Linked DNA regions of Homo sapiens: regions 2 and 3 are each linked to region 1. The links are contacts of gene promoters, found by promoter capture Hi-C in human tissues and cell types (Jung and others, 2019). All regions are on one chromosome and are shown on one strand. Each heading gives the region's core, a stretch centred on a gene start or on the middle of the fragment in contact. The rest is flanking DNA. Distances are from core to core; before and after follow the strand shown.

Region 1 (2,970 bases), core at 189-2,688:
TTCCATGCTGTTCCCTGACTGGCTGTGACCTAGGACAAGGAACAAGTTTCCCTCTCCTATTCTCTAGGTCTCACATTTCTTCTCCTCTAGCAGTAGTGGGAAGTGAGGGGTGGGGGACACGACCCTCCCCTGTTCCATCCCACACTCCAACCCCCAAAATCCCCCAGGGTCCCCGTCCAGCTCAGTCCTGGGGGCAGAAATGCAGAGTTCTCCAGGAACGTGGTCCCAGCTGTTTCAGTGCAGGCCGCCCCCTCCTGGCCACCAGCGGAATGTCAGCCTTCCCAGAGGGGCCGGGAGAACAGCAGTCGAGAAGCTCCCAGACTGGTGTGGGCGCTAGCTGTGCTCAGCGTGGGGATGGGAGGTGACCCAGTGATAATGGGAAGCTGGGCTGCCTGTCAGTCTGCGGGGGGCTCCCACCTCCCTGTTCCCCCACAGGGCACCTGGGGATCCAGCCTGATTTTTACCAGACCCTGCGGCCTGCATGGGGCTGGGTATAGGGCTGTGACCTTGACCCATGCAGAATAGAACCCTGTGTGTCGGGATCCTCCATGTGCTCCAGATGCCCCTGGGGACAGCACCAACATGGCCTTAACTCCCAAGCCATTCCCCTGCCTCTAACCCCCTGGCATCTGCAGGCATCCACCCCAGACCCACCCAACACCTCCTCCCCAGCTTCAGGCGCTAGGCAGAGACCTTGGCCCCTGCAGAATGCAGCCCTGTCCAGGGTCCCCTACCTTCCCCCCAGATCCCTCCCAGAGCAATACCAACCCGGGCCTACCTTCCAGGCCATTCAACCTGCAGCCCCCCGGCCTCTGTAGACATCGCACCCCCCAAACCCCCAGACCTGCCCAATGCCTCCCCTCCCCAGCTTTGGGCAGAACCTGTCTCTAGCCAGACCTGGGGGTGTTGGGGAGTCTGGAGGGCCGGGGTGGGGGCTGAGGCGCGGGACAGCTGGCCCGTATCCTCACACTGGGCCCGGGGCCCAGCCGGAGGGGCGGGGGCCTGGCCACTCGGGCCTTGGCTGGGGCTGGGATTTTTGGCCTGGCCGCCAGGCCCTCCCTTCTGCTTCCTCTCCCGAGGGCTGTCCTGGCAGAGGCCCCCCTCGCTCTTTCTGGCGGGAACAGGGCCAGCAGCGAAAGAACAGTCGCAGAGGGAAAGCGGGAAAGAGATGGGGGAAAGTGTGTGTGTGTGAGTGTGTGCTTGTGTGCATGTGTGTGCGTGTGTGTGTCAAGGAAAAAAGCTCGCAGTCCAGCAGCCCGGGCCTGGGAGGCTTGTGAGCCGGGCCTTTCGTAATTGTCCCCTCCCCGCGGCCCCCTCCCCCAGGCCTCCCCCCTCTCCCGCCCTCCCGCCCGCCCTCTCTCCCTCCCTCTTTCCCTCACAGCCGACGAGGCAACAATTAGGCTTTGGGGATAAAACGAGGTGCGGAGAGCGGGCTGGGGCATTTCTCCCCGAGATGGCGGGTCTGACGGCGGCGGCCCCGCGGCCCGGAGTCCTCCTGCTCCTGCTGTCCATCCTCCACCCCTCTCGGCCTGGAGGTAAGGACCCCTCGCCCCTGTCCCCAGCGCTGCCCACAGCTGCGGGCCCTTTGGGCCAGGTGACTAGACGCTCAAGGGGGAGACCTTCGTCCCTGGGAACTGCAAGGGGTCCCAGGTGGGAGCCCCTCAGCCACTGGGTCCTCGGAACTGCCCCTCCCAGGAGCCAGCCCCGTGCCCAGGAGGAACCTGTCAAAGAGACACCCTCGACTCAGAATAGTCCCAGCCCAGCATCCAGGCTTTGCTGCCCTGCGAGGGCTGAGGGGGCCCCTGCTCAGGTGCCCGGGTGCCCGCCCTGTAGGGGGATCAGAGCATCCTGGGGGAGGGCCCAGCGGGAACCCCTGGGTCTGGAGACACCACAGTCTGCACACCTGTGGACACAGCTGGGGTGCACACCAGCCCTGGGGACAGGGAACCTGGGCTTGATACCAGCTCAACCGCAGTGAGCTGTGTGACCTCAGCAGGTTCCTTGACCCCTGGGAAGCCGGGATCCCCCCGTCAGGAAGGTCAGGGCTCCGCTGAGGATGGGTTTGCAGGTTGGGAAGCTGCTGCTGTGTTCTCCCTGCTGAGGCAGGCAGGGACTCCTGGTATGCATTTGTGTGTGTGTGTGTGTGTGCATGCACACAGGAATGAGCGTGCTGTGTGCTCGTGTGTGTATGTGTGCATGCACAGGTGTGCATGTGTTCAGATGCCCGGCTGTGTCACTGAACAGGGAAAGGGATTTCTGGAGGGGTACATATGTCTGCTCACAGGTTCATCCTTAGGCAGGTGTATGCGTATGTTTGGAGGAGGTATATGAAGCTGCTCCTTAGTGTGTGCAAAAGTCTGCCACCTGACAGACATGTAGACATGTACACATGTAGACATGGGCGATCTGGCATCCAGGTGTGACACTGGTGTGGACTGTCACTGTGTGTGTTATGGAGTGTGTACATCTGTGTGTGTGAATGTGTGTGCGATGTGGCACGCAAGCATGGAAAGGCGGGCTGGAGAAGGTGTCTGTCTCCTGGCAGAGGCAGTGTGGCTGAGACAGAGGCTGGAGTGGATCCTGGGGCACTGCTGGGCCATCTGCTATGTGCCCCAACCCAGGCACAGTTGGTTATGGGGTTTGAGGGTGTGCCCTGTGGGGCTGCTATGCCGCGGCCAACGGGGGAGGACAGAAGAGGCTCCCGGGCATGGGAAAAAGGAGGGCATTTGGTAGGGGGGTCTGGGTGGAGTCTGGTTTCCTCGGGAGTCCTCCTTGCCATGAGAACCAAACGCTGAGTGGGGGGCGGGAGGGCCACGGGGTGGAGTCAAGGGCCTGGGCAGGAGCTGCAGCTGTTTCCGTGAGATTGAACAGCTTCCTGTGCAGGGTCCGCTGCTGGACCTGGATGAGGCCAAGGGACATGGGTACCCACAGGCGGGCCCCAGCAGGGGCAACGAGCCAGGGCCTGAAAGC
Region 2 (2,970 bases), core at 161-2,660, 230 kb after region 1:
AAAGTTAAAGGCATGAGAATTGTACAGCATAGGCTTCAAACCTGCCACAGCAGAGAAACACCTGTTGCTGCTGGAGCACGGCCAGCACAGGTCATCTGGAGCAATGTGACACTGTGCTGCAACCCTGTCCGCCCGTCACAAGAGGCCCAGCACATACAGCACTGACATCATTTGGTGTGACAACATGGGTGCAACCAAGCTCCTTTCTCATCCCTTACCTGCCAGTTTCTTTTCTTTTTTTTTTTTTTGGAGACAGAGTTTTGCTCTTGTTGCCCAGGCTGGAGTGCAATGGTGCGATCTTGGGTCACTACCAACCTCAGGTGATCTGCCCACCTCAGCCTCCCAAAGTGCTGGGATTACTGGCGTGAGCCACCATGCCAGGCAAGGATTACCTGCCAGTTTCTGCAGACGTGTGCCAAATACACAGCATAGCTGGCTAGACACCGTAGGCCTAGGCTGGGTACAGTGGCTCATGCCTGTAATCCCAGCACTTTGGGAAGGCGAGGCGGACGGATCACTTGAGATCAGGACTTCGAGACCAGCCTGGCCAACATGGTGAAACCCAGCCTCTACTAAAAACACAAAATTAGCAGGGTGTGATGGTACATGCCTGTAATCCCAGCTACTAGGAAGGCTGAGGCAGAATTGATTGAACCAGGGAGATGCAGGTTGTAGTGAGCAGAAATCACACCACTGCACTCCAGCCTGTGTGACAAAGTGTGACTCCATCTAAAAAAAAAAAATTAACTGGGCATGGTGGTGCGTGCCTGTAGTCCCATCTACTTAGGAGGCTGAGGCAGGGGGATCACTTGAGCCAAGGAGCTGGACATCAGCCTGGGCAACACAGCAAAACCCCCGTCTTGATTTTTTTAAAAAAATTTCAAATGTAAATGTTATTGAACCTAACAGTCAAAATATTATTTTCAACATGTAATCGATATTTTTTTTAAAAGATTGAAGTTTTTGAAAACACTAGGTCATACACTACTATACACAAAAACTTTTGAAAAAACCAACTAGGTCAGAGTAGGTGGCCACCCGGGGTAGCCCTAATTGTCATAAGCATTGTAGTGAGCGAGACTCCGCTCGCAGAGTTTAGACCGGCCACTCTCGATCCATGTCCGTCGCCTTCTTGAAATCATCTCGATGCCACCCGGGGCCTCCTCCTCCCTCGGGATTCCCCAAAACGAGCCCCTGACCCCCGAGTTTCTCCGGAGCACGGCCCGCCACTCGCCCACCCTCACGTCCAAACGCGCCCATTCTTTACGGCCTGGGACCTCACCACGGCAGTTCGTAGTGGCCGGCGCTGCCGGGGGCCTTGCTGAAGGCAGGGGCAGGGTCAGAGTCCTGGGCCTCCACCTCGCCCGCGCCACCACAGACGGCCTCCACCTCCATTCTCGCGCCTCCTCTTCCCGCCACCCGAGGCACCGCCCCTTGACGCCGCCACGCAAGCCCCGCCCCCTGGCTTCCGCCGGGCGCGAGCGGAAGTTACGTACCCGCGCCTCTCTGTGCCTGCGAAGAGGGTTCCGGTGGTGCCCTGGCGGCCATCGCTGGAGGCCGCGGTTGCTATGGGAGACCTGGCGCCCGGCCTGGGAGCGACAGGAAGGCGAGCTGTGGCCGCGACGCCTTCCGAGAAAGCAGGTCGCTCTCGGAACGGACGTTTGTGTGTGGTTTCTGTGGAAGATCCGCTCCGCGGCGGCGTGGGAGGAGCAGGGCCTGGAGGGGTTGCGGCCAAACGCGGGCTTCGGTGTTGGGACACGGACAACGCTGGCGTCCGGGCGCTGCTGGGCAGCGGGGTCCGGGGATGACGTCTGGGGCTGCCCGTGCCCACTTTTCCAGATTGCTCTGAATGTCCTAGTGAGCTGCTCCCGTTGGGTAGGCTCCTGCGCCTCAACCGCGCTCGGTACTCGACGTTTATTATCAGGGAATTCTCGGCTGCAAGATGGGAATTCCACCCCCACCCCATTTTGCAGAGGAGGAAACTGAAACCGTCCTTTTGTCAGATGAAATGCAATGTTCATTCCAGGAAAATAGGGACTCAAGGCCGGTGCGGTGGCTCACCCCTCTAATCCCAGCACTTTGGGGGACAGAGACCGGAAGAGCGATTAAGCCCAGGAGTTCGAGACCAGCCTGGGCAACAAAGTGAGATCCCCGTCTCTACAAAAATAAAAATTAAAAAAGTAGCCGGGCGTGGTGGCGCGCACCTGCAGTTCCAGCTACTCAGGAAGCTGAGGCGGAGGAGTGCTTGAGCCCAGGAGGTGCAGGCTGCAGTGATCTCTGATCACACCACTGCACTCCAACCTGGTCTGCAGCAAGACCCTGTCTCAAAAAAGAAAAAGTAAATACTTCAACCTTGCAAGGGTTTTGAGCATTCTTATGGGCTGTTTTTCTACCCAATCTTTCCTCCCATAGCCCAAATTGTCATAATATTCAATAATGATGATCCCAGAACTTTGGGAGGCTAAGGTGGGAGGATCCCTCAAGCCGAGGAGTTTGAGACCAGCCTGGGCAACATGGTGAGACCCCATCTCTACAAAAAAAATTTTTTAAATTATCCAGTTGTGGTGGTACGCGACAGTAGTCCCAGTTACTCGGGAGGCTGAGGCAGGAGAATCGGTTGAGCCCATGAGGTTGAAGCCACAGTGAACCATGATCAAGTCAATGTACTCCAGCCCCGGGGGACAGAGTGAAATCCTGTTTCTAAAAAAATAAGAAGAAAAGAAAGTAGGTACTTCAGATTCACAAGTGCTTTGACCATTCTTTGTTTTGTTTCTTGTTTTTTGTTTTTGAGATGGAGTCTCACTCTGTCACCCAGACTGGAGTACAGTGGTGTGATCTCAGCTCACTGCAATGTCAGGCTCCCAGGTTCAAGTGATTCTCCTGCCTCAACCTCCCGAGTAGCTGGGACTACAAGCGTGTGCCACCACACCTGGCTAATACTTGTATTTTCAGTAGAGATGGGGTTTCGCC
Region 3 (2,970 bases), core at 232-2,731, 180 kb before region 1:
TAGGCTAGGAATGGCAGGAGCTTTTCCTTGTTTCTCCTTCCCTCCCTCCCTCCCTCCCTTCCTCCCTCCCTCTCTCCCTTTTGTCCTTTATATTTTTAATTTTAATTTTATTTTTTTGAGAGGGGTCTTGCTCTGTTTTCAGGCTGGAGTGCAGTGATACAATCCTAGCTCACTGCAGCCTCTACGTCCTGGGCTCAAGCAATCCTTCTGCCTCAGCCTCCTGGGTAGCTGGGACTCCAGGTGCTTGCCACCAAGCCTGGTTAATTAAAAAAAAAAAATTGTAGAGATGGGGTCTTGCTATGTTGCCTAGGCTGGTCTCCAATTCCTGGGCTCAAGCCATCCTCCCTCCTTGGCATTCAAAATGCTGGGATTACATGTGTGAGGAACCTACCTGGCCTTTCTCTTTCTTTCTATGGGAGGAGGGTATTTCCAGAAGCCACAGAAGCTGGGAAACTGTGATCTGGCACTTTGAGGCTCAGGTGTGGGGTGTGAGCTTTCCATCCAGGAAGGAGGGAGGGGAGAATGGCTTGTGGTACTGTTCCCAGACCAAACTGAGGGTCGGGCTGCTACTTCTTGTGGCCCAATAACGAGATGCACACAAACTGGGGAGGAAGAGAGTTTTTATTTCTGTAACCGTTTACAGGGAGAAGGCGTGGAAATTATCACCCGACTAACTCAAAGTTACAAAGTTTTCCAGAGCTTATACACCTTCTAAGCTATACGTCTATGTGTAAGTGTGCATTCATCTGAAGACATAAGTGATTAATTTCTTTTAATCCATGACTAAGGTCTGAGTCCCGAAGCTCTTCCTCTGGAACCTCAGTAAATTTACTTATCTAAATGGGTCCAGGTGCTGGGGTGATTCCTGTTATCTCCTGCTAAATCATGGAGGTTTGAGGAGTTCCTTCAGACCGCCAATAAATTTGTTTGTGGAGGCCTGGGGAGTTTCTTCAGACCCAAAATAAAACTTGCTTAATTCTAAATGGTCCTGTTAAGAATTCCTTCATTATTTTGTCGTGATTTAAGGCCCAGGAAAGGCCTGGGCAAAACTCTTGGTGGGCTTTTGTTACATCCCAGCCTTTGTATAAGGGCACTGGCTTTTAATATTTAAATTAACCACTCAGTCAGTACTGAAACAGTTGTTGGGGAGACCTGGCCTGCCACAGTGCGGGCTCCTGTGCTGCTCCTGGGGTGTGAGGGCGTGTGTTCCTTCATGTGCACCTGTGTGATGAGCGGGGAATGTTACAGGTGTCCATTTTGATGTGTGCAGGACCCAGGCCATGGAGAGCTTGGTCCCCAGGCTATGGACTCCCTCCCTTCCTTCCTTCCTTCCTTCTTTTCTTTTTCTTTCTTTCTTTTCTTTCCTTCCTTCCTTCTTTCTTTCTTTCTTTCTTTCTTTCTTTCTTTCTTTCTTTCTTTCTTTCTTTCTTTCCTTTCCTTTCCTTTCCTTTCCTTTCCTTTCCCTCCCTCCCTCCCTTTCTTCCTTCCTTTCTTCCTTCCTTCCTTTCTTGATGGAGTCTCACTCTGTTGCCCAGGCTGGAGTGTAGTGGTGCAATCTTGGCTCACTGCAACCTCTGCCTTCTGGGTTCAAGCAATTCTCCTGCCTCAGCCTCCCAAGTAGCTGGGACTACAGGCATGTGCCACCACGCCCAGCTAATTTTTTTTGTATTTTTAGTAGGGATGGGGTTTTGCCACGCTGGCCAGGCTGGTCTCAAACTCTTGACCTCAGGTGATCTGCCTGCCTCGGCCTCCCAAAGTGCTGGGATTACAGGCATGAGCCACCACGCCTGGTCTATGGACGTGCTTTCTAACCCTGAATGTGTAATGGGGAGTTGTGGCTTCAGATTTGCATTTTACCAAGATGGCTCCAGAAGGCGGCAGGGAGAGCCAGCTGGGTGAACCGCAAGTTCCGAGGCTGTTGCAGTTACTTGGCAAGAGCTGGAGTGTCAAGAGTCAGGGGCTGCTGAGGAGGGGGTGACCTTGGTGCTGATGGGGTGTGGGGGCTGTTGAGGACCAGATGGCAACTTCCCTTCCTTGGAGTTTTCTTCCTACCTCATCTTCTTCACCGCCTCCTCCTTGCTCTTCTCCTACCTCTAAGCTTAGGAGAGGCCCCCGGCTCTGTCCTGGGTCTTCTTCCTTCTCTGTGTACACCCACTTCCTAGGTGATCTCATCTAGTCCCGTGGTTTTAAATACTGTTTATTTGTGGGTGACTCCCAAATTGATGACTTCTAGTCTTGGCTCTCCCCTGAACTCTGGACTTGTTCACCCAGCCATGAAACTGACATCTCCTTGGAGGCCACAGGTCTGGCAACGAGCCCAGACCCGAGAGTGATTCTTTCCACTCCCAAATCTGCTCCTCTTCAGGGCCCGTCTCTGCAAATGCCCCTGAACCACCTTGCACTCAGGGGCTCAGCTCAAGCTGTTTTTCTCCCATCTCGCACCCTGTTCATCAGCAAATCCTGTGGACTCAAACTACACCAGCCAGGTGCGGTGGCTCACACCTGTAATCCCAGTACTTTGGGAGGCCAAGGTGGGTGGATCACTTGAGATCAGGAGTTCAAGACCAGCCTGGCCAACATGGCAAAACCCTGTCTCTACTAAAAGTACAAAAATTATCCAGGGATGGTGGTGCATGCCTGTAATCCCACCTACTTGGGAGGCTGAGGCAGGAGAATCACTTGAACCGGGGAGGCAGAGGTTGCAGTGAGCCAAGATCACGCCATTGCACTTCAGCCTGGGCAACACAGCAAGACTCTGTCTGAAAAAACTAAAAGAAAAAAAAGAAGAAGAAAATCTCAAACACACACAAAAGAAGAGACTAGTGTAATAACTCCCCATGTATTTCTTCATGAGCGTTTCAATAGTTAACAAACTGAGCCCAGCCAGAGTGGCGTTTTTACAGTATCCATCTGATGAGTTTACGCCCCTGCTTAAAACCTAAAATCCAGCTTCTTTCCTCTCCTTATCTG

Evidence for each region. Contacts are between HindIII fragments. The study calls those that stand out against the background at their distance.
Region 2: the fragment with the promoter of RFC2 here is called in contact with the fragment with the promoter of ELN in region 1 in 1 of the 25 tissues and cell types used here (small bowel).
Region 3: a contact is called between a fragment that was not itself captured here and the fragment with the promoter of ELN in region 1, in 2 of the 25 tissues and cell types used here (aorta and pancreas).

Annotation. Positions count from the first base shown.
Region 1 is chr7:74,026,735-74,029,704 of GRCh38, forward strand. ELN (elastin) reads left to right here and starts at 1,439. Exons shown (of 33, transcript NM_000501.4): 1 at 1,439-1,535. The coding sequence starts at 1,454. RefSeq lists enhancers at 1-822, 1,795-2,766. The HindIII fragment of the contact is 22,090 bases long and covers 1-2,970 here.
Region 2 is chr7:74,252,989-74,255,958 of GRCh38, forward strand. RFC2 (replication factor C subunit 2) reads right to left here and starts at 1,411. Exons shown (of 11, transcript NM_181471.3): 1 at 1,283-1,411. The coding sequence starts at 1,395. RefSeq lists enhancers at 443-1,045, 1,046-1,648, 1,085-1,314, 1,649-2,251, 1,725-1,804 and 2 more and a silencer at 1,365-1,484. The HindIII fragment of the contact is 19,783 bases long and covers 1-2,970 here.
Region 3 is chr7:73,847,349-73,850,318 of GRCh38, forward strand. No RefSeq gene overlaps it. Among named protein-coding and RNA genes, the nearest start is that of METTL27, 6.3 kb to the left of the region's middle. The HindIII fragment of the contact is 7,829 bases long and covers 1-2,970 here.